Regions from separate parts of the Homo sapiens genome. Here all the other regions are linked to region 2. The links are contacts of gene promoters, found by promoter capture Hi-C in blood cells and fetal thymus (Javierre and others, 2016). All regions are on one chromosome and are shown on one strand. The core of a region is centred on a gene start or on the middle of the fragment in contact, and the rest is flanking DNA. Distances in the headings are between cores, read along the strand shown.

What was found. The method cuts DNA at HindIII sites, captures the fragments that hold promoters and counts their contacts. A CHiCAGO score of 5 or more calls a contact.
Region 1: the fragment with the promoter of LRP2BP here is called in contact with the fragment with the promoter of POLR2B in region 2 in 1 of 17 cell types (non-activated CD4 T cells); the score reaches 8.2 in non-activated CD4 T cells.
Region 3: the fragment with the promoter of SCLT1 here is called in contact with the fragment with the promoter of POLR2B in region 2 in 2 of 17 cell types (total CD4 T cells and total B cells); the score reaches 7.5 in total CD4 T cells.
Region 4: a contact is called between the fragment with the promoter of HNRNPDL here and the fragment with the promoter of POLR2B in region 2, in 1 of 17 cell types (fetal thymus). The highest score is 10.3, in fetal thymus.
Region 5: a contact is called between the fragment with the promoter of SEPSECS here and the fragment with the promoter of POLR2B in region 2, in 3 of 17 cell types (non-activated CD4 T cells, total CD8 T cells and fetal thymus). The highest score is 7.7, in non-activated CD4 T cells.
Region 6: a fragment that was not itself captured here is called in contact with the fragment with the promoter of POLR2B in region 2 in 2 of 17 cell types (total B cells and non-activated CD4 T cells); the score reaches 12.9 in total B cells.

What each region holds. Positions count from the first base shown.
Region 1 is chr4:185,394,062-185,397,531 of GRCh38, reverse strand. LRP2BP (LRP2 binding protein) reads left to right here and starts at 1,608. Exons shown (of 9, transcript NM_001377440.1): 1 at 1,608-2,753. ANKRD37 (ankyrin repeat domain 37) reads right to left here and starts at 691. Exons shown (of 5, transcript NM_181726.4): 1 at 582-691; 2 at 230-382. The coding sequence starts at 608. RefSeq lists silencers at 706-1,075, 1,296-1,485 and an enhancer at 1,106-1,175. The HindIII fragment of the contact is 1,591 bases long and covers 536-2,126 here.
Region 2 is chr4:56,977,643-56,981,243 of GRCh38, reverse strand. It overlaps POLR2B (RNA polymerase II subunit B), which reads right to left and starts at 2,348. Exons shown (of 25, transcript NM_000938.3): 1 at 2,240-2,348. The coding sequence starts at 2,258. RefSeq lists an enhancer at 1,975-2,074. The HindIII fragment of the contact is 1,293 bases long and covers 1,162-2,454 here.
Region 3 is chr4:129,092,172-129,095,963 of GRCh38, reverse strand. It overlaps SCLT1 (sodium channel and clathrin linker 1), which reads left to right and starts at 2,425. Exons shown (of 21, transcript NM_144643.4): 1 at 2,425-2,894. The coding sequence starts at 2,861. It also overlaps a transcript of C4orf33 not described here. RefSeq lists an enhancer at 2,161-2,730. The HindIII fragment of the contact is 3,346 bases long and covers 1,796-3,792 here.
Region 4 is chr4:82,428,879-82,432,355 of GRCh38, reverse strand. It overlaps HNRNPDL (heterogeneous nuclear ribonucleoprotein D like), which reads left to right and starts at 1,894. Exons shown (of 8, transcript NM_031372.4): 1 at 1,894-3,108. The coding sequence starts at 2,666. ENOPH1 (enolase-phosphatase 1) reads right to left here and starts at 1,766. Exons shown (of 6, transcript NM_021204.5): 1 at 1,443-1,766. The coding sequence starts at 1,526. RefSeq lists enhancers at 1,176-1,275, 1,639-2,434, 2,586-2,675, 2,996-3,055, 2,435-3,230 and silencers at 1,516-1,835, 1,956-2,355, 2,726-2,965, 3,276-3,445. The HindIII fragment of the contact is 3,206 bases long and covers 1,034-3,477 here.
Region 5 is chr4:25,158,226-25,161,946 of GRCh38, reverse strand. It overlaps SEPSECS (Sep (O-phosphoserine) tRNA:Sec (selenocysteine) tRNA synthase), which reads left to right and starts at 1,498. Exons shown (of 11, transcript NM_016955.4): 1 at 1,498-1,691; 2 at 2,840-2,994. The coding sequence starts at 1,578. It overlaps SEPSECS-DT (SEPSECS divergent transcript), which reads right to left and starts at 1,275. Exons shown (of 2, transcript NR_037934.1): 1 at 1,194-1,275. RefSeq lists an enhancer at 1,235-1,534 and a silencer at 1,645-1,814. The HindIII fragment of the contact is 2,962 bases long and covers 557-3,518 here.
Region 6 is chr4:25,232,038-25,235,564 of GRCh38, reverse strand. PI4K2B (phosphatidylinositol 4-kinase type 2 beta) reads right to left here and starts at 1,532. Exons shown (of 10, transcript NM_018323.4): 1 at 1,134-1,532. The coding sequence starts at 1,401. LOC105374535 (a long non-coding RNA gene) reads left to right here and starts at 1,700. Exons shown (of 4, transcript XR_925490.3): 1 at 1,700-1,776. RefSeq lists enhancers at 643-772, 705-1,204, 1,205-1,706 and silencers at 993-1,052, 1,093-1,332, 1,433-1,742. The HindIII fragment of the contact is 3,001 bases long and covers 12-3,012 here.

The sequences.
Region 1 (3,470 bases), core at 359-2,858, about 130 Mb before region 2:
TGTTTCGTTTATTAATGTGGCTACTTAAAAACTTCAAATTTCTCATGTCCTCACATCAAGACTGGAAAAAAACTCTTAAATTACATCTGTGTCTTGCATTATATTTCTGTTGGACATCGCTGCTATAGACATGTTTTTAACAGCTGAAACAACTCTTGGCGTCTGAGAAATGTTTGTGTGTGTCTGGGTTGGAGGGGACGGCTGTACACAGCAACAGTTACCTAGTTACCTGCTGGTTGAGGTCAGCGCCCGTTTGCAGCTGCCAGAGAAGAAAGCAAGCAAGGCCGCTTCCTGCGGCTAAGTGGACAGGCGACTGCTTGCAGGGATCCGGGGGTGCGTTGACCGAGGCCCCTGTCTCCAGCAAATGCTTCAGACCATCCACCTGCAGGAAGAGAACAGATCCAGCACCCTTCCCACCTTTGTCCAGTCCCGCGCCCCTCCGGGCTGGAAACCTCCCCGCCCTTCACAACCAGCTCTGACCAGGCAGCGCCCAGTGGTCCGTCCCCGCATTAACGAGAAGACGAATCTAGAAGCTTGAGCCTGCAGGACAAAAGCTCGGGCTCTGTGAGCCCGAATCTCACCTCGGGGTTGCAATCCAGCAACAGCATTTCCCGCCTAAGGCAGATGACAAGAGTCCTTGGAAGTGCAGAGAGGTGAGACACTCGCCGCACCCCGACAGGTAAGAATGCGCAGGCTGGCCCTAGCACGGGAGAATTTAAAGACCGCTGGGACTTCCGGGCCGGCCCTTGGCAGCCGCGCCCCAGCTCCGGTTACGCCCGAGCAGCCTAATCCTCAACGACCCGGACCCTGTCCAGCCCCGCCACGGCCGCACGTACACAAACACTGGCACGTGGAGCCCGGCGCCGGGGGCAGGGGGAGGGGGCGGGCGCGCGAGGCCATCCGCCGATTGGCCAGCTGTGGATGCGTCAGGCCCTCCCACCTCGGGGCGGGGCCCGCGGCGGCCCCACGGAGCCTCAGCGCGCGTGCGCAGGGTAAGTCAGTGGGCGTGAGAGGACTGGAGTAGGAGCGGGTGGGGCTCCGCGGCCGCCATGAGGCGCGCTGAGTTTGACACGTCTCCCGGTAGTGCGCCCGCCCTTTAATCCTTACGGAGAAGCGGGAGTTTCGGCTGCAGGTTTTGGCTCTGCCGGCGCGCACGTAACCAGGAAACTGGGAGCCACGCGCAGCTCCCCGTCGACGCCGCCTTCAGAAGCCGCTGTGCACTGCGCTGCTGCCGCCTCGGCGCCGGGGAACGCAAGTTCCTTTACCTCGCGCGCAGTCGCCCGCCTCCCAACCCGGGAGGTGAAGGCGGGGACGGCGAGCGCGAACTCGAGGGGATGGCTGTCCCGAGTGGCAACGGCCGAGCCCGGCCCGCGCAGGGACCCTTGTGGAGGGGCCCTCGGGGAGAGGCCGCAGCACGCTGGGGTCGTCACGCTGGTCCACGCCGGGCTCTCCTCCCGGGAGAGCGGACCCGGCCGCGTGCGATTCGGACCCGCGGGGCTGGTGAAGCCGCTGTCCGGCCCCGCGGGTGCTGTCGGGCGTGCGTCACTGCTTTTTGTAGAACATGACCTGACTTCCGATGGCAGCTACTGACGTCAGAGCTGCTCCCTAGACTCTCCCTAAGCGTCTTTCCAGAAGGATCTGCTTAGAAACCAAAGCTCCAGCCGAGTGTTTCTTTTCCCCTACATTTTTAGTGATTCCCTTCTGTTGATGCCTTTGAAAGCTCGGAGAAATAAATACGTTTATTGTTATGCTGTTAGAAAACAAGTTCATGCTTGTCCTCTAAAGATAAGTGGTCTTTTCATTCTACTTTTTGTTTTGTAGTAAGAGCCATAAAATTTGCAATCGCAAGTTTATGTTGTTATACTTAGTTACCCAAGGGGTAGTTTTAAGCATTTTTATTCATATGAATATTTGAATATAAATGTGTGTTCAAATATATAGAATCGTTCTTATATTCCACATTTTTAATATTTAAACTATTCACAATATCTTTTAATGATGTTTAAAGAACGGCAGTGTAGAGATACTGTTGTCAGATTTGTGAGGTGAGCACACGTTGATATTGCCAGTTTCGCTTTTGTTTATCAATTCAATAAGCACTGCTTTTTAAAACACGTGTTGAAGCTTCAGGTTTGCACAGAAGTTCATTTTCAGGAATTCCTAACTAATAAAGGGTATCAGACACGTTCTTACAGTTTTGAACATAAATACTGCAGTTAGCATATGTAGTGGGATATTTGTGTGGTGAAAGTGCCTCCATATTTCATATCTTTTCTTTGAAACAAGATTCTGTTCAGTATGCATTAAGTGGTAGTTATTTTTTAACTTCCTGTTACATACGTAAATTTCATAAGGAAAGGAAATTTGGGGAGTCGTTACAGCTTTTCTCCCTTTAATCACAGCGTACCTGTCCATTGCTCACATTGTTTTCAGAAAAAAAAGTTGTATCTCAGCTGGATATCTGACTTGACTTTAGTAATGGGCCTAGAAACTATAAACTGAACAAAGCTTATAATGCACAAAAACAGGATAAGTACATTTGGGGGACAATATCTTACTGGCAAGTAACTGGAGTTTCACCAGGCGTGTAGCAGGTGGGATCAATTTTCTAAAACGGAAGATGATCTAAGATGCATATTTTATAGGCGTTCTCCTAAGCAGTGCTAATTCTACATGTTTTAATTGCTGGTAGATGCGTTTCCAGAACGAGGATGCCATTTACAGCGAGTGTTAAAAAAAACGTTGGATGATGAGTAAGTGACCGAATAGATGAGAGATGTGTGGGCTGAATCTTGAGTAGTAAGAGTTTGCTAAGGAGTCCAGGAAGGGAAGAGTATTTCTAAGAAGTGTAAAATATCTTCCAGTATTGAGAGCACTATATGTAGTTCAGTCTGGGGGCAGTGTGTGATACACATGCAGCTGTGATGTGAAATAGAGAAAGGCCGACAAATGAGAAAGTATTAACCACTAACGTCTATTCCAGTTTATTATATTACAAATTGACATTAATTGAGCACTTGTGCCTCAAGACTAACGCTCATAGGTATTATCTGCATTTTACAGAAGAGGAAATTGAGGCTTAGGGAGATCCATTAACTTGTCATGTAATTATTAGCAGGTAAATCAGGAATTTGAAGTCAGTTTGACTCCAGAGCCCACATTCTTATACCTATGTGTTTTAAATAATTTTGGTCACCTCTGGTCAATTCAGGCTAAGATTGGTTTCTTTAATGCAAACCAAAGGCCTTTTTTTTTTTTTTTTTTTTTAACTCTGAAACACAATCTCGCTGTCTTGCCCAGATTGGAATGCAGTGGCGTGATCTCAGCTCACTGCAACCTCCGTCTTCCCGGGTTCAAGTGATTCTCGTGCGTCAGCCACCCAAGTAGCTGGGCTTACAGCTATACGCCACCACACCCAGCTAATTTTTGTATTTTCAGTAGAGATGGGTTTCACTGTGTTGCCCAGGCTG
Region 2 (3,601 bases), core at 1,099-3,598:
TGCTTTCTGTGTACTGATACGAAAATCTCCTGGACACATTAAACAAAATCTAAAAGTGGAGAAAAGTGTGAATATTACTGTCTTTAAAAAAAGAGAAAATCCCATTTATATTTGCTTAAATATGCATAAGGAAACTGTGGAGGCTGGGCTTGGAGGTTCACACCTGCAATCCCAGCACTTTCGGAGGCCGAGGCAGGTGAATCACCTGAGGTCAGGAGTTTGAGATCAGCCTGGCCAACGTGGAGAAACCATCTCTACTAAAAATACTAAAATTAGCTGGGCACGGTGGTGTACGCCTGTAATCTCAGCTACTCGGGAGGCTGAGGCAGGAGAACTGCTTGAACCTGGGAGATGGAGGTTACAGTGAGCCGAGATTGCGCCACCACACTCAAGCCTGGGCAACAGAGCAAGACCATCAAAAAAAAAAAAAGAAACTGTGGAGTGATAAGAACCTCTTATAACTGTTATAACTGTAGTTACCCACTGTGGAGAGTTCAAACTGGGCAGATGGTGGGTAAGAAGGAGACGTGACACTTTAACTTGTTTTTTTTGAGACAAGGTCTCACTTTGTTCTCAGCTCATAGCAGTGTCAACTTCCCAGGCTCAAGCGATCCTCCAGCCTCAGCCCCACAAGTAGCTGGGACTATAGGTGAGCAAGACCACGCCCAGCTAATTTTTCTATTTCTTATAGAGAGGGGTCTCCCATGTTGCCCAGGCTGCTCTCGAACTCCTGAGCTCAAGTAATCCACCCGCCTCAGACTCCCAAAATGCTGGGATAACAGGCGTGAGCCACTGCACCAGCCACCCCACTTTAACATTTTTAAATTTTCTGGCTTGTGAGCTATGAGAATATATTACCCAGCCAAAAATTATGCTTTAAAAATCTTTTTTTTCGAATTTTTCTTCTACTGAGATAGTAGTTAAAAAAGAACAAGGAATATAATGATGCTAATAAATTTCTACAACACAAGATATAAATGAGACAGAAGTTTAAACAGCTTTAAAAGTTTAAGCTTTTGGCTGGGCACATTGGCTCATGCTTGTAATCCCAGCACTTTGGGAGGCCGAGACAGGCAGATGGTTTGACCTCAGGAGTTTGAGACCAGCCTGGGCAACATGGCCAGACCCCATCTCTTAAAAAAAAAAAAAAAAAATTAAGCTTTTGCTTCAATTTTTTCCATCTGATTTATCAGAAGTACCTGAGGGAATAGAGAGAGGAGATGTAGGGGGTGGCCAAGGAATTGAGAGCTATAAGAAAATAAGGTTTGAATTAGCAGATATGGAGAATGGAAAAGGCGGCTACGAAAATACACTAGACTCAACTAAGAATTTTTTTTTTTTTTTTTTGAGACAGTCTAACTCTGTCACTCAGGCTGTGGTGTAGTGGTGCGATCTCAGCTCACTGCAAACTCCGCCTCCTGGGCTCAAGCGATCGTCCGGCCTCAGCCTCCCGAGTAGCTGGGATTACAGGCGCACGCCATCACACTAGGCTAATTTTTGTATTTTTAGTAGATACAGGATTTCCCCATGTTTGTCAGGTTGGTCTCAAGCGATCTGCACATCTCGGCCTCCCAAAGTGCTGACGGGAGCCACCGCGCTCGGCCACTACTAAGAATTCCATATGCGCAAACAAACAGGTATTATACATTGGCCCAGTGCAGCAGAATACATATCATCTGAGAACTGTGACATTGTGAGAAGAGGAAGTTAAAAGTCATCCTTTAAGACAATTTACTTTGACTTACAAACAGTATGAAGAAATGTCAGACTAAACCGAGTCCCCCCCGCCACCCCCACCCCCCGATATTCTCTGTCCCGGAATATTTCCAGGACCTTCCACACTGCCTGACACAGGCTGACACTCAACAATTGAGCTATTCGTTAAGTCGACTGTGGCTTTAAGGAAAATTTTTAAAGGGTGCCCTTTGCTTCAAATTCAAAACGTAATTTATCTTACGATTCTGCACGCTACTTCACCACAGGAAACGAGGATCAGATCTAACGGAACGAGAAAGTGCAGAGAGCAGCAGTGAACGTAACCTGGAACATTAACACTATGTTCCCTGCACCCTCCGCCTCTCCCTACCCCAGTTTCGTTCCCGGCCTGGTAAGTGTGGGAACAAGGCTGGGGACTGTGCAGCCGGCGCATGGGAAGGCCCCAAATCCTCAATCCAATCAGTTCCCAACGCTTTCCTGCTTAAATGGACCGCCACGGCGTGTGTTTTGAGCGTTCACCTACCCTCATCCGCGTCGTACATATTGCCAAACGGTTCTCGAGCTCCTAACTCTTGAAATCAAAAGACAAAAACCGCCCAGAAGCCAGCAGCGCCAGGAGCTAAAGACGAAGTAACTTCCGTCTCCGACGTTCCCAGAATACCACGCGTCTCACACCAAAGGCCGCCCACAGGGACGCCAAAGTTAGGATCTGCGCCTGCGCAAATTGTAGGTCAAGCTTGGGCCGGGGTTAGGGTTGCACACGCGTAAATTGTGGGCCGCCGCTGCCGGGCTGATTGAGAGGACAGCTCCCGCAATCTGCGGTCGTATCCGTTCCGTCAATGTTTTATTTCTGCTTGTTTTTCAATGTTGTTGCACAAATAACGACACCTGAAAACAAAACCAGGTATACTTATTATTAAAAAGTGTTCGTCCTGTGAATCCGCAACATTGGGATGCTCAATTTATTTGCCTTTATAAGGACCAAAACACGAAGCTATTTTTTATTTTTATTTATTTATTATTTTTTGAAATGGAGTCTCGCTCTGTCGCCCAGGCTGGAGTGCAGTGGAGCGATCTCGGCTCACTGCAACCTCCGTCTCCCGGGTTCAAGCGATTCTCCTGCCTCGGCCTCCCAAATAGCTGGGATTACAGGCAAGGGTCACCACGCCCGGGTAATTTTTGTATTTTTAGTAGAGACGGGGTTTCACCACGTTGGCCAGGCTGGTCTCGAACTGCTGACCTCAGGTGATCCACCCGCCTCGGCCTCCCAAAGTGCTGGGATTACAGGCGTGAGCCACGCGCCCGGCCGGAAGCTCCTTTCTGTTTTTGTTTTGTTTTGTTTTTTTGAGACAGGCTCGCTCTGTCGCCCAGGCTGGAGTGCAGTGGCGCGATCTCGGCTCACTGCAACCTCCGCCTCCCGCGTTCAAGCCATTCTCCTGCCTCAGCCTCCCGAGTAGCTGGGACTACAGGCGCCCGCCACCACGCCTGGCTAATTTTTTGTATTTTTAGCAGAGATGGGGGTTTCACCGTGTAAGCCAGGATGGTCTCGATCTCCTGACCTCATGATCCGCCCGCCTCGGCCTCCCAAATTGCTGGGATTACAGGCGTGAGCCACCGCGCCCGACCCCGGAAGCTCCTTTTTAAGTGTGATTTATTAAGGGCGGCTTGTGCTAGCAGTGAGGCGTTAAGCCTGAAAGTGAAAAAACCCAAAACACTCACTGCTCTTTTCTGCCCACCTAGCTCAATCCTCCAGTGCCTTTGCCATAGCTTTAAGTAGGTTCTCAGTCTCAGAGCTTAAATCGCGAGAACTGACGGGATTAGACGCAAAACCAACCAGGACAGCTCCCAAGTACCCACGCGCTTTCGTCTCGGGTCAAATGCGCGC
Region 3 (3,792 bases), core at 1,176-3,675, about 72 Mb before region 2:
AAATACTGTGCAATAATTTGAAAATCAACTGTAAATCATTAAGATTACAATATAACATGTACAGAAATATTTCATTTAATACAACTAAAGGCTAACTGGCCATATAAGCAAAAACTATAAATTATATTATACCAGCTATAAACTATATTATACTATATTCCTGGGGAGGCATGTTCATAGCAGTTAACAATTGTGAAATTAGAACCATACTGCCTGGGTTCAAATCTCAACTCAGGCACTTGCCAGCTGTGTGATCTGTTCTGATCCTTGCTTAAACTTCTAACTTTGTATTCTTCCTGGTACTTTGCACATAGTACTGGGTGCTCAATGTCAATTGATCAACCAAATGAATGTTAGTGAAATGTCACTAATTTTCAATCTATACAACTTTAGGGGTTTTCTTTATTGCAGAAAAGTCATATAAAAACATTAAATGGTGGCTTGACAAGAGTTACACACAAACTACATACATTTCTGCTTGTCATTCCTTGTATTCAATTTATACTAATAGATACTTTTCATGAACATCCACTGAATTCTTTCATTCCTTCCATCAGATATTTAATCAACTCTGTGTTCCAGGTATTATGATGGAGCCTGGAGACAAACTACAAAACATGACAGATAATGCAGGAAGGAGCATGAAGTAAGTACTAAGGTGGCACCTACCTTGGGAGAAGTGGATAAAGAACTCAGGAGATGTGAAAAGGAGGAACATGAGAGGGGATCCTTTAAGGATAAGTGAAATCATCACAATTTTGTTTCCTAATGATGAAACTTATGTTGAAAATACTCCATTAAAATTCAACTACTAAAATCTTGTAACCACAAACACAAACGCAAAAACAAAAAACTATCATGATCATAATTATGATCATGTAAGCTAAAAAATTCGAGTGCAGACATAAAAGTTTTCACCTGAGATATTCACTTTATGTAAATACCACTCATCAGTTATAGCCAGAAGGTATTTGCTTCCATCCAGTTTGGGTGTAAGCGTAGAGTTAAGTCTATAATTATTTATTTGATGCCAAGTAGAAATACGACAATATACAAGGTTCAAATGTGGGAGAAGTTACAAGCAAGTCCTTGGAGAGTCAGTGAGATGTTTATGAAGAAAGAGTCATATACTGAACTTCAAAAACGAGTTGGACCTTGCACACTCAATTTTCCCTTAGCTATAACGTTTATACAAAAAGTTTTTGTGTAAACGTTATAGCTACTAAAAATCAGAACAAGTTCAATTATCACCAACTCAAAGCTGGATTAGACCTTTTCAATGATTATTAAGCTACACATCCATATTTAACAGCTAGTCTTTAGAGGAAGGGACCATCTCATTCTATTAACAGTGAGTATTGAGTAAGGCCTTCAGATGCCTAACTGCATATATTTGAATACATTTTTAAAATTTCTTAACACATATCGCTAAGGTTACTTTGTTTATATGACATTATGAGTACGGGACAACAAAACTCTTAAGCCGTTAAACAGAAAGCCAAATCAAGCTGCATCTATGACATGCCTGTTTAGTGAAACTTTACTTCAGTCCATAAAAATACAATTTATTAAAAGCACAAAACTAGTGGCTAGCTTCAAGTTAACATTTTTGTTGCTAGTGGTGAGATTTCCTCTAATGTTAAATGATTTTTTTTAAAAAAATACGTTTTAAGTCCAGACAAAATTAATTTTCAAAAATGAAAATTGTAATCTATCCACAAATGTAAGTTTTACCGTTTTGTTTTTTGCAAAAAAAAGTACCTTTTATCTTTCCTTATATTTGAGGAAACAAGCTTATCTTTGAAGAAGTAGCTGCTGAATTTGCAAGATCTTTTGAGTACTTCTAACTACACGCTTTATTACTACACAGTTAAATATTTAAACAACAGTTGTCTCCTTTGTCTAAAGACCCACAAAGACCGAGAAGGTACTTACCTTCTTGAGATGACCAAATCCAAACCTAGAACTCCTCCAGAGGTACAGCCTTGGTGGGAGATTCTGAAGACGCCAGTCTGGCTTCTATCCCTAGCCGCAGGAACCTGCATCTTTTACTTAGTCCAGAAAGGCTTAGTATATTAGTAACCCAAAGATAGTGAGGGCATTTAAACTGTGTATTTCATTCTCTACTCACGTTTGCATTTTGGTTTTTTGTTTGTTTGTTTGTTTGTTTTAAAGAGGTTGGGCCTCACTACCTGGAGACACTGTCCCACCAGTTTGGCCGCCGCGCCAAGCCGGTGGCTCAGCCCGCTGTCATCCAGGTTCTCACGACTCCTCCCATTGCTTGACAGCCAGCCAATAGCGTGCTAGGACTCTAGGACGCGCGATGGCGTAAGCTCCAACGCCCGCGTGATGACGCAAGAGGCGCCACCGTCTCCAAGGAGTGGTCCGGGGCACCGGTTTCAAAGTCGCAGGGCGGGCCGAGTGGACTTCCGCTGCTGGCCTGGGGCTTCCCAGCCGTCTTGGCGTTGTCCTCTCCAACCCCCGCCGCTCCGCGTAGAACGCCGCTCTCAGGCTGCCGTCAAGCTCCCGCGGCACTCTCCTAGGTGGCCCGACGAGACCCAGAGTGACCCGCGGGACGCCTGTATCGACCGCGTCCTCTTCCCACCAGCGTGGGATTCGGTTGAACGTGGAGTCCCCAGCAATCTTCAGTCTCTCACCAGGGCCAGGGACTCGTCTGGGGCGCGGGGGAAAGAAGCGTGGCGGGGCTGTAGATGCCGCGTGAGTAGGATGCAGATTGCACCGCTGGAGCGCTTGACAACCAACCGAGCGTTGGCTTAGTTTTGTTTTCCCGCACAGCAAGCTCTCTGTCTTTCAGAGGAAGGTAAAGGTGGTGAAAGCTCTAAACTAAAATTGTATCGAAATGGCTGCAGAAATCGACTTTCTGAGAGAGCAAAGTAAGCTCCATGTTTTTTTGAGACTTCATATACAATGTTTAATATCGTCGTCGTTGACCGACAAATCTTTTTTGAATGCTGGTTGGGTACATTTAAATTGGTAAAGAGTTAAAGAAGTTAGTTGCAGGAAAAAAAAAACCTTGATGTTATACGTGAGGATGTGTGTATATTTAAGCAGAACCGTGTGGTAGTACTTGTAGCTTACACAGAATTCTACTAGACGCTAAACATGTTTGTTATGCTCCTCTCGTGCTCTGAAGATTAGAAGGCTAATGGCCAGCAGGAGTTTCCAAGTGTGCATTTAAAATCTAGGGGCACAGCTCTCTGGCCATTTATTAAAAAGATGTTTATTGAACTCCTGTTTCTATTATGTACCAGACACTATGGAAGAACAGCTGCTGCAAAGATAAACAGGACAGTTTTTACCTCCAAGAATTTAATTTGGGGAGGGAAATGTATTCCAAAATATATTGAAGTGACAGCAACTGCTGGCTCTTTTGCCACAGTCTCATAGGGTTGTTGGAAAGATTAAATGAATATTAAAATATGTAAAGGATTTAGAATAGTATCTGATACATTGTGTTAAACAAATATTAACTATTACACGATTATTATTAAAATATGTTCAAGGAAGGTGCTATTGGGCTGAAACGTGCAGTACAAATATGAATTTACTATATGAAAAACTCTAGGCATCCCAAATAGAACAATATTTGTGACACTGAGGGGATTAGGAATATGCTTTGTTAAAGACTTGCAATACGGCTGGTTTGAGTGTAATATTGATGTAAATTGAATTGGAATATTTATATAGGGAAATGGCAAGTGCAGTTGAAGGCGTAGAAAGGGGCTGGATGGTGAAGGGCCCTGTCTTCTCTGTGCTAAGGAGTATGGACCA
Region 4 (3,477 bases), core at 645-3,144, about 25 Mb before region 2:
AAACAAAAACCGTGGAGAAAATGCTAAACTCGATTTCTTCTGAACCTATGCTAAGATGTCAAGGTACTGTGATTCTTCTAAAAGAATTTTAAAGGTTGTTATGTTTGGTGTCCTAAAAGTGTACATGGATTTTATATTATAACCTACATCAAGAAACTCATTCAGGCCAGGCGCCTTGGCTCATGCCTGTAATCTCAGCACTTTGGGAGGCCAAGAATTCCAGACTAGCCTGGGCAATATGGCGAAACCCCGTCTCTACAAAAAATACAAAAATTAGCCAGGCATGGTGGCTCTCCCTTCAGTCCCAACTACTCGAGAGGCTGGGGCAGGAGGATGCCTTAAGCCCAAGGAGGTAGAGGCTGCAGTGAGCTGTGATTGCACCACTCCACTCCACTCCAGCCTGGGAACAGAGTGAGACTCTCAAAGAAAAAAAAAAAAAAGCCTTATTCACAGATAATTTTTTTTAAAAATGGAAACTAAAATAGAATTTAAAACCCAAGCTGCTCAGTTTCTTGGAAGATGGATTTTTCCTACTTGGTAATATACTTTGTATATCTCGACTATTATTGTGCATGCAAGCACCTCTAAGAAGTACTTGTATCTGCAATGAATTCTTAAACCTCAGGGAGCCAAATAAAAAGACAAGGCCCGAGGAATTCTTTCAAAAATTAAAGTAACATTTCATATTTGCTTATTCTAACAGACAAAGAATAAAGAAGGAATCCGCTAAGTTGCAAGCTGAGGTGCAGACAAGTGCTGGTTCACAGTGACATCCTAGAAGGAATGCTCTGGATAAGAGCTTCAAGCTTCTGTGGTTTTCTGAGGAAAGTGAACGGAATCTAGACGTGTCCTATAGCTCAAAAAATCAGCGCTATGGACCACAGCGCCTAACAGAGTAAAATAATACACTGTGCAGTTTGGCCACTAACAGCAAGAGTGGGAAGGGGCGAAGAGGAACCTTGATTGCCCGACACCAGGGCCACCTGAAAAGTCATCTTGACACTTCAGTCTTTCCATTTTGAGATCGGAAGCTTTAAGGACCATTAAATCGCTGCCGCTGCCACACCAGGCCCGACGGAGCAGAAAGGCTGCGCTCACCTGCGGAAGCGACCGGGTGCACACCTGCCGGGTGGCGAGGCCCGCACCGTCACACCCCGCCCCGGCTTACCTGCCCTTCGGTGATTTTTAGCGTCAACTTCCATCCCTTCCCACCCATCTGGATCCAACCAAGCGCAAGGGCGGGGGAGGGAGAAGCTAGTGTCGCGAGGAAAAGCATCCCCGCAACCCACCGCAGGCTTTCTCTCCTTCCTCCCCATTCCACACAAGAGGCAGCCACACCGCCTCTCCTAACCCTCGTCTCCAATGCAAGGCCTGAAATACTTAGAAAAAATAATAACTGTTTTTAAGGAAAAGTAACATCCCCGCTCCCTTCCGCCCCTCACCTTCACGAAAGCAATCGGGGTTGTGGTACCTTCGATATCTAACAGGATCACGGTGACTTCGGCGGGGACCGAAAGCACGACCATTTCCCTACCGGATGCTACGGGACTCGGCCTGCTGTTGGGGAGGGCGGAGGGCGGCGCCGGCTGCGGCTGCGGCCCCCGGTACCGTCTTGGGCTTCCGGCGGCCCCGCGCGATCTCGGAGCCAGCGACCAAGTGCAGCCCGCCGCGCGTGGGGAGAGGACACTTCTGCACACCTGGAACTGGAAAAGGCGGCCGCCCAGGAGCCCTGAACTCGTGAGCAGGACGGGGCAGGAGCCCGAGACCACGTGGGCAGGAAAAGGGGCGGCCCTTGACGGGTTCGGCGGGGCGGGGAGGGTGAAGGCGCCAGCGCCGATTGGCCGCCGTCAGGCCTCGAACTGGATCCGTCAAAATGGGCCTCGCGTGGGCGGGAACAAAGAAGCGAACGCGGGAGCAGGGTGCGCGAGAGCGCGCCCTCCGCAGACAGGTTGAGCGAGCGGGAGAGGCCCGGGGCACGTGCAGAAAGGAGCCCCGCGAGTGGCGCGCCGGGGATGTGAGTGCCCCTTGCCCTCTACTGAATCCAGCCCCCTCCCCGCCCACCGCCTCCGCCTTTGCATAGATACAGTCATCTGGCCAGCCCCCGCCCCTCCTCCCGGCGTCAGCCCGCCAGAGGCCGCGCGGGGCCCGGGCTTCGGCCGATCAGCCCGGGAGGCCCCGCCGCGCCCCCTTGGCCCGCGCGCCCGTGGTCACAGTGGAAGAGGCGCCCGCGCTGCGCTGCCCGGAGGAGCCGTCGCGCGCCCGCTTCCTGTTCGGCTGGTTCCTGCCAGCTCGAGGACAAAACACGCGTGCGCGCGGCGGGCGAGCGCGCTCGCCGCCTCAGTCGCCAGCGCCGGGCGCAGTCCGCCTTTTTCCGGAGCAGACTGGCCGCGGTGCTAGTCGGTAGCAGCGGCCGCCGCAGCGGCTCCGCACTGGCGAACCGAGGGCAGAAAAAGGCGGGGTTGACGGCTTTTTGGTAGGAGTGGGCTGGACCGGACGCCAGAGACAAAGGCTCCCAAGGCAAGAGGGACTGTGGCCCTGCGTCGGCTCTGCTCGGGACTGCTGACCCCAGGAATTTACGCCCCTTCGTTTTTCTCTTCTGATTCTTCTCTTCTCCCAAGCCCGCGTCCCCTCACGCGTGGCCTCTCTCCTTGCCGGGAGGGCCGCGATGGAGGTCCCGCCCAGGCTTTCCCATGTGCCGCCGCCATTGTTCCCCTCCGCTCCCGCTACTTTAGCCTCCCGCAGCCTCTCCCATTGGCGGCCGCGGCCGCCGCGGCAGCTAGCCCCGCTCCTCCCTTCGCTCGCTCCCAGCTCCGCCCGGCAGGGGGCGCGCCGGGCCCAGCGCCACGTCACCGCCCAGCAGCCCTCCCGATTGGCGGGCGGGGCGGCTATAAAGGGAGGGCGCAGGCGGCGCCCGGATCTCTTCCGCCGCCATTTTAAATCCAGCTCCATACAACGCTCCGCCGCCGCTGCTGCCGCGACCCGGACTGCGCGCCAGCACCCCCCTGCCGACAGCTCCGTCACTATGGAGGATATGAACGAGTACAGCAATATAGAGGAATTCGCAGAGGGATCCAAGATCAACGCGAGCAAGAATCAGCAGGATGACGGGTACCGCACGCTTCTTCCCCCGCTCCCCCTCCCCCAGCGCGCCGCACGCGCCCTTCGTTCCTCGTGAGCCGCGCGCTGCCCCCATTCTTTCTCAGAGTCGATTCCCCGCGTGCCTTCTGGGCCCCACTAGATTGGAGGGAAGAGGAAAGTAAGAGATCGAGGGGGTGACTGGAGAGACCCGGGAAGAGTGGGGGAAGGGCGGAGGGGTTGGAGGAGGAGGGCGGCGGCGTCTGTGTCCCGAGCGCGCAGGCGCCGCGTGGGACCCGGGGGGGAGGGGCCGGCCTCCCAGCGCTGCACGCTGCAGCTGCCGCCGCCTCTTCATTGTGTCTCTGTTACCACTCGGCGCGGTTTTCCTGGGAAGAGTTTTAG
Region 5 (3,721 bases), core at 249-2,748, about 32 Mb after region 2:
CTGTATTTGAAAACTAGCTCACAAAATTACTGAACATTTAACAATCAGCTCTTGCAAGTGGGTGTGACTCAGTGCAAATGGACAAACCACCAGGTGAAAGCAATGTCAGGAATTACTGTAGGCTCACATAAGATGAAGATTGTAAGGAAACTGGAGGCAGGGATCTCCAGCAGTGAACCTCTAAGTTGTTGAACTGTTACAGCACTGCCAGGTTCCTATGCCGGCTGTGCAGAAACAGACCAGTATTCCGACAGCAGGCTTGCAGCAGAGAAAGTTTTAATAATCACAAGTTACAAGCCAGGAAACAGGAAGAGTTCTCAAGCTTCAATCCATTTCATCAAGGGGTTCTAGGCAAAGTTTTTTAAGGGGATTTGTGGAGGGTGAGGGGCTGGAAAATTTGGGGTTATCGATTCGTTGGGGTAAGGGAGATGAAATCATTAGGATGTGACAATTGCATTCCTCCATGAATCAGCTTTTTATTGGGCCTTCCAGACAAGTTGGCGTCCTTAGTTTTGTTGGTATGCGGGACCTAAAGAAGCAATGCAAACAGAAAGCTTATCTTCTCATAATGTCTTAGATTTTATCTTCAGAGCAGAAAAAGAATGAAGAGTCTTGTGACAAGGGCCACATTCTCCTGGGGTAGTAAGTAGCAACCAGCTACAAGAAAGTCGGCCACACTGCAAGCTGGCTTAATAACAGCAGCTGTAAGCCTAGTTGGATTTTTTTCCCCTCCTTAATCAATTTTACAAAATGTTCTTGGGGATAGTTTCAGAATGGTCAAACTAATTCATTAATTCAATATCAACTTTTTTTTTAGGCCCTACTTTATTCTGGGCACTGTTTTAGGTGCCCGGGGGAAGGGGGCACCGCAGCAAAAACCGAGGTCCTGCCGTTAGGTTAGAGAGTTTACATTCATGGGTATGGGTGTGTGTGTGTGTGTGTATAAACAAACGTCTGGCATGTCACGTGGTGAGTAGTAAGTGCTATGGCTAAACAGTAGTGTCAAGGGGAAAATGAGTGGGGCACTGCTATTTCCTATGGGGTTGTGAGGCAGTAATAAGTGTGGAAATGTATCAAAGTAAAGATCGAAGGTTCTGGCATCTGACAGTTTGAATAAGGCGGAAGCACAGACCCTGCACAGATCTCAACCATCCAACAGGACTGAAACACAGAACTTGGAAAAACCCACGTACCTGCTTCTTACTCTGCTCGCCCGGTCTGCACAAGTGCAAAATCCTTTCCTGAAGTTTGTGTCAGGAACACCAGGGTTTAACTAGACGAATCAGCCGCAGCGGGGCGGGGCTAATTTCAGTCCTTCCTTTGCCAAAAGTCAGCGAAAAGCGCGGACTCCCTCGCGCATGCTCAAATACGCCAACTTCCTCCTGGAGCGCCATCTGAGAAGGTCTGCGCATGTGCACGAACGAGAAGTGTTTTTTTTGTTTTGTTTTGTTTTGTTTTGTTTTTTGTCCCAAGGCGCTGCCGTACCGTCCAGGCGGCGAGTTGCATTCTGGTTCCGTCGTGTGTCTGGCGTGTGGAGCTAGTGCTCCCGCTTATTCGCCACTGTCGCCACCGCTGTCATGAACCGCGAGAGCTTCGCGGCGGGAGAGCGGCTGGTGTCGCCGGCTTACGTGCGGCAGGGCTGTGAGGCCCGCCGCTCGCATGAGCACCTCATACGGCTGCTTCTGGAGAAGGTACCGAGCTGTCGGTCCCCTCCCCAGCCGCCGCGACCCCGGGGCTCTGGCTCCGCCGGGCGTCCCCGCTGGTGCTGCCTCACCGGCAGCTCTTCGCTGCTTGAGACTAGTCCCAAGTCTGTCTCAGCTTGGCTTGCCCTAGCTGACCGACTGCGGTCTGTGCCTTCTCAGCCTTGCCAAAGCCAGTGAAAGCCAAATGGTGTTGTTAGGAGGGGGTGTTGGGGTCGGGGTTTTGAGTCCCGCTGTTTCTAACTTCGGGATGCGGAAGTGAGGGAAAGTCCCAGTGTACTTTTTTATTCGCGGAAAGGGCAAAGTTCGCACCTCCATCTTTCACCAACCCTCAACGACTCAGAACACATAATGGTGTTTGTAGACTGTATGCTAACTCGAACCACGAGCTTTCCGCGGAACTTCACAGGTCTCCCTCCTGCCAGCGTTCATGTATTTTAATTTCATTAAAAGTTTTGTTGTGTTTTGTTTTTTTGAAACAGAGTCTCGCTCTTTCGCCCAGGCTGGAATGCAGTGTGACGATCTCGGCTCACTGCAGCCTCCGCCTCCCGGGTTCACGCCATTCGCCTGCCTCAGCCTCCCGAGTAGCTGGGACTACAGGCGCCCGCCACCACACCCGGTTAATGTTTGTATTTTTAGTAGAGATGGGGTTTCACCATGTTGGCCAGGCTGATCTCAAACTCCTGACTTCAAGTGATCGGCCATTCTTGGCCTTCCAAAGTGCTCGGATTACAGGCGTGAGTGAGCTACAGCGCGTGGCCAAAATTTCACTGAAGTTTGACAACTACCGCCCTTCTCCACGTCCCACCGCCCCAGTCGTAACGCCCTGGTTTGAAGCATCTTCACTGGGGATGTGTTGTATTGGTTTTCAGTTAGTTTCACTTACGGAAATTTAAATATCTCAGTAAACCTCATTGTATGCATTTATCATCACTTCTCGAAATCTGTAAATAATTGTAATCAAATGTACAAACGTTTTGCCTCTTTGCGGTCTCTATACAGTGGTGAATTTATGCTTGAATTTTAGAAAACAAGCAGCGTGGCAAAATACACGTTAAAAAGAAAAACTGTATTCCTGTAGTATTCTAGAGAACGGTAGTTTTATTAAATATAATCATAAGTTTTTTTTTTTTTTTAAGGGCAAGTGTCCAGAGAATGGCTGGGATGAAAGTACACTTGAACTCTTTTTACATGAACTTGCAATCATGGACAGCAACAATTTCTTAGGCAATTGTGGTGTGGGAGAAAGGGAAGGGAGAGTGGCATCCGCACTGGTTGCTCGTCGTCATTACAGGTATCTTTTTTTAAGTAGTACAGGAGATACATCGTTTATTTATTTTTGGTTCAAAATAATGGCAGCAGTATTTATCTTATTAGATTATCAAATGTCAGTTTGTAAACCACTTCTTCCCTGCTCTAATGGATATGTAAGCCAAATGCAACAGGGAGATGGAAACAATTTTATCTCAGCAGGTGCTTTTCAAAGACAATAGAGTAAAAACTAAGTGGGGGTTACCCTGTCAGGTTCTGGGTGACTAACACAGGCTATACGTTTTCTTAGGAACGGTTACCCTAATAAACATATCTGGTTGTAAGAGTTCAAAATCCATTAAGGTTGTTTATAGCTTTCCATATTTCTTTTCTAACATTTGTAGTGTTTTTTTTTTTTGAATGATTTATAGTTATCAACTTTAAATTTTGTTTTAAACTGTGTTTAAACTGAATCTCATTTTATAAATACCTCTGTTGCAATAGATACAGGGAAAGGTGTATTAGATTATTAAGTGACCTTTTTCTTTTGCATTATTGCAGAAAGCTTTTCATCAATTCTGATAACGATTTAATTGGTAGTTAATTGGTAGTTAATATGATCACTCATTGCTCTGTCCACTAACCTTTCTGTGAAGTGTAAACTCTTTTAAATGAAACTCCTGTCTTCCATGCTTTTACATTATAATGAAAATTTCCTGGGCATCGTAGAATTTGTATTTCAGTAAAAACCACTGCAGTCAAAACTGATG
Region 6 (3,527 bases), core at 263-2,762, about 32 Mb after region 2:
TGGTTAAAGCTTAAACAATCAGACAAACTGCTCCCCTTGGGATTCTCTGATTTATTTACTCTAGAATATGCCTGAATGTAGCCTCTAGCTAGAACTTGAGTGACCGATTCTATCCAAAATTCTTTAAACTGTAAAGGACACATTAGTGTACCACTAACAGTACATTTAAAATCTAACAATTCCAAAAAAAACTAAGCAGTGTTAAAGAAACTTCCATTTTCTGTGGTTTTTAAGTTGTCATGTGTGAAGCGATAAACCAACCGGGTGCACAACATCTCATTTAATCCATCCTCACAACCAGCAGGGAGGTGTACCATCGCCTTTTTACAAACAAGTCTGTCTCACCTCTAGCTGAGAGTCTTACAAGTCTCTTGCTATTTCCATCACATTTGTCTAACTCCATTCAACACGCCAGAAAAACTCACTTTATTAATAAATATCCAGGCCTGCACAGCATACCTAAATTTAACCTTCAACATCATTTCAACTGCCCTGTTTCGCCTGAGGTTATCAGTCCGCTTAATAGCGAAAAGAGGTTTTTCGTTTTGGTTTTCTTATGTATTAGAAGTAAATCAAGAAAGAGAAACTAAACTGTAAGAGGGCAGGAACAGACTTTCAACTGCTTTTGCCCCCTGTGGCTAACTTCATAATAACAACATTTAATAGAAAAAGGTTTTGAAACGTGCCCCAGTGGCAACTGGATATTCTGGCTGTCCATCTCTCTCCTGTCATCCACTTTGCAAATTCACCACTCCGGGAACTTTCCTGAGAGTTCAAGGTTCTTAATTCAAAAGTCAAGTCCAAACTTGAGCAAGGACTTACGTCATTTTACAGCGTTAACCTCTCCCCAGTGTCGGTTTCTAGAAGTTTTGACTCACTTTGCGGGGAGGTCTAAAGAATCGGTTTAATGACAACCACTGGCCTTAGGAGAGGGAGCTCCCGGAGAAAGAGCGAGCAAGCTAGGTGCCCGCGGTGCGGCTGCGGCTGGCGCCGGTCCGAGCTCGGGAGCTGCTGCCCAGCGAGCGGGGAAAGCCCGTCCACCTCGGCCAGCGCGCGCGGGAGACAGGACCGAGCCGGGCGACAGGGGCAGCCGCCCGGAGGGGCGCGGGGAGTGGGGCAGGGCCGGGTCGCACCTGAAACCGCGGGGCGGCTCCGGTCCAGCTCGGCGGACGAACTCCGGGAGACCCCCACGTCCCCGGGCGGGAGGGGCAGCTCCTCGTCGCCGGCCTCGCCCTCCTCCCCGGCAGCGTCCAGCAGCCTCACGGCGCTGCCTGGGGCGCCTCTCCGCGGGTGGGCCCAGGCGATCCGCGGTAGCAGCGGCTCCCGCTCCCCATCCTCCTCCTCCTCCGGGCTCCCGCCGTCCGCGGACGCCAACCGGTCGGGCTCGGAGGGATCCTCCATGGACTCCCTCTGCTCCCTCCGCGCTGAGACCAGATCAGAGCAGCCAGGTGCCAGAGACTGGGCTCTGCATGGCGCGGAACGGGAGCGACCGGGTAGAACGGACGCCACCTCACCAGCGCACGGGCACGCTTGGCGCCCGCCCAGCGGTTGTCCCGCCTCGCCGCCGGCCGCGCCCCACCTCGCGCCTCCGCCAGGCACCACCCCCGCGCCTGCGCAGAAGGGTCGTGGCGGCGGCGGCGGCGGCAGCGGGGCACGTGGGAGTGAACAGGGGGCGGGGCTTTTGAGGGGTCAGGTGGGGTGGGGCCGCCACCTGCTTCCGTGAGCGCGGGGAGAAGCTGGGCACAGCTCGCTTTACTCCCAGTGGAGGGCGGGAAGGTGAGTAATTTTCAAAGAGGTGCCCTCCTGCAACCAAAAGCGGCTTCTCCCTGACAGAATTCTCTCTCAGAGTTTACCATAATCTGTAACTATAGATTTAATTGTATGACATTTCTTTCCTCCAGTAGACGTCCAGGAGGGCAGGGACCTTGTCTTTGTTCAGATATTCTTGATAGTGGCAGTTTGTATGTTTTCTTTTTCTGACTAATCTAGCTAGAAGTTTATCAATTTTTAAATCTTTTCAAAATGTCATGTTTTGGTTCCATTGATTTTCTGTTTTCTGGTCCATTGCCTTATTTTGCTCTTTATTGCTCACTTGAGTTTTGATTTCCTCTTCTTTTTCTAGTTGCTTAGAGTAGAAGATGATTGATTCTGGATCTTTCTGCTTTTCCAATGCTAGTATTTTAAGGCTATAAATTGCCCTCTAAGCACTGCTTTAGCTGAATTCTCCTTTTTTTTTTTCTTGGTGGTTGTTATTTTTGAGACAGGGTCTCACTTTGTTATCCAGGCTGGAGTGCAGTGACACAATCATAGCTCACTGCAGTCTCAACCTCCTAAGCTCAAGGGATCTTCTCAGCTTTAAACTGTAGAAGACACAGTAGCTGGAACTGCAGGTGTGCACGACCACATCCTGTTAATTTTTAAATTTAAATTTTTTGTAGAGATGGGATCTCACTGTTGCCCAGATTGGTCTTGAGCTCCTGGTCTCAAGCAGTCGTCCTGCTTCAGCATCCCAAAATTCTGGGATTACAAGCATAAGCCACCTTGCCTGGCCTGCTACTGTGCTTTTGTTTTCCTTCAGCTGAAAATAGTTTTTAATTTCCTTTATGATTTCCTCTTTGACCCTGTAAAGGAAAATAAAAATCTCAGAACCACCCCCCACCCCCAACTTGTTATGTCAAAGGGAGAGTTAAGCCTGGAGACTGAAGTCACTCAACACTACAATGCTTTTCCCAAATGGATAGCTGTTACTTCCCATAGTTGTATTAAAACTTTATATGTTAGCCAGACCCTCCTCAAAATGCAAAAAAAAGCCTTATGCATCTCAGTCTCAGGATGACTGTCCTCAACAAATTAATCATAGTAAATTCTTTACTGGCCCTTAAACCTTTCAAGATGTATATCCTTCCATAAAACAAGGACGTGTCAATTGTATAACTTTAAGTCTGCAACCTAAATCAAACTGGTACAACTAAAGTCTGTTAAATTTCACATGGATAAATTCAGTTACAAGCTTATCTTCCCAGATGCAGAACAAGGATAAGATCAATCATTCCTTCACCTGAGATATCTGTATAATTAACTTCCTTTACTCCATTTTCTTTGAATATTCACCTTATCTTATGCATAGCATAGAGTTACTGGGCACTACCTAAAGTCTAGCAAAAATGTAACCATTTGCTTCACCACCTACAACCCTCTTCCCTGATGCCTTCTCCGCTTTAAAGAAAGAATAGCTGTAATTACAGGTGCCTGCCACCATGCACGGCTAATTTTTGTATTTTTTAGTAGAGATAGGGTTTCACCACATTGGCCAGGCTGGTCTCGAACTCCTGACCTCAGATGATCCACCCGCCTCGGCCTCCCAAAGTGCTGGGATTACAGGTGTGAGGTACTGCACCTGGCCTGTAAATGCCTTTTAATTGGAGTTTGGGGTCCATTTACATTTAATGTAATAATGATGTGGTTGGATTTAGATCTATTATTTTGCAATTTGGGTTTTATTTGCTTTAACCTTTTCGGTTCCTCTG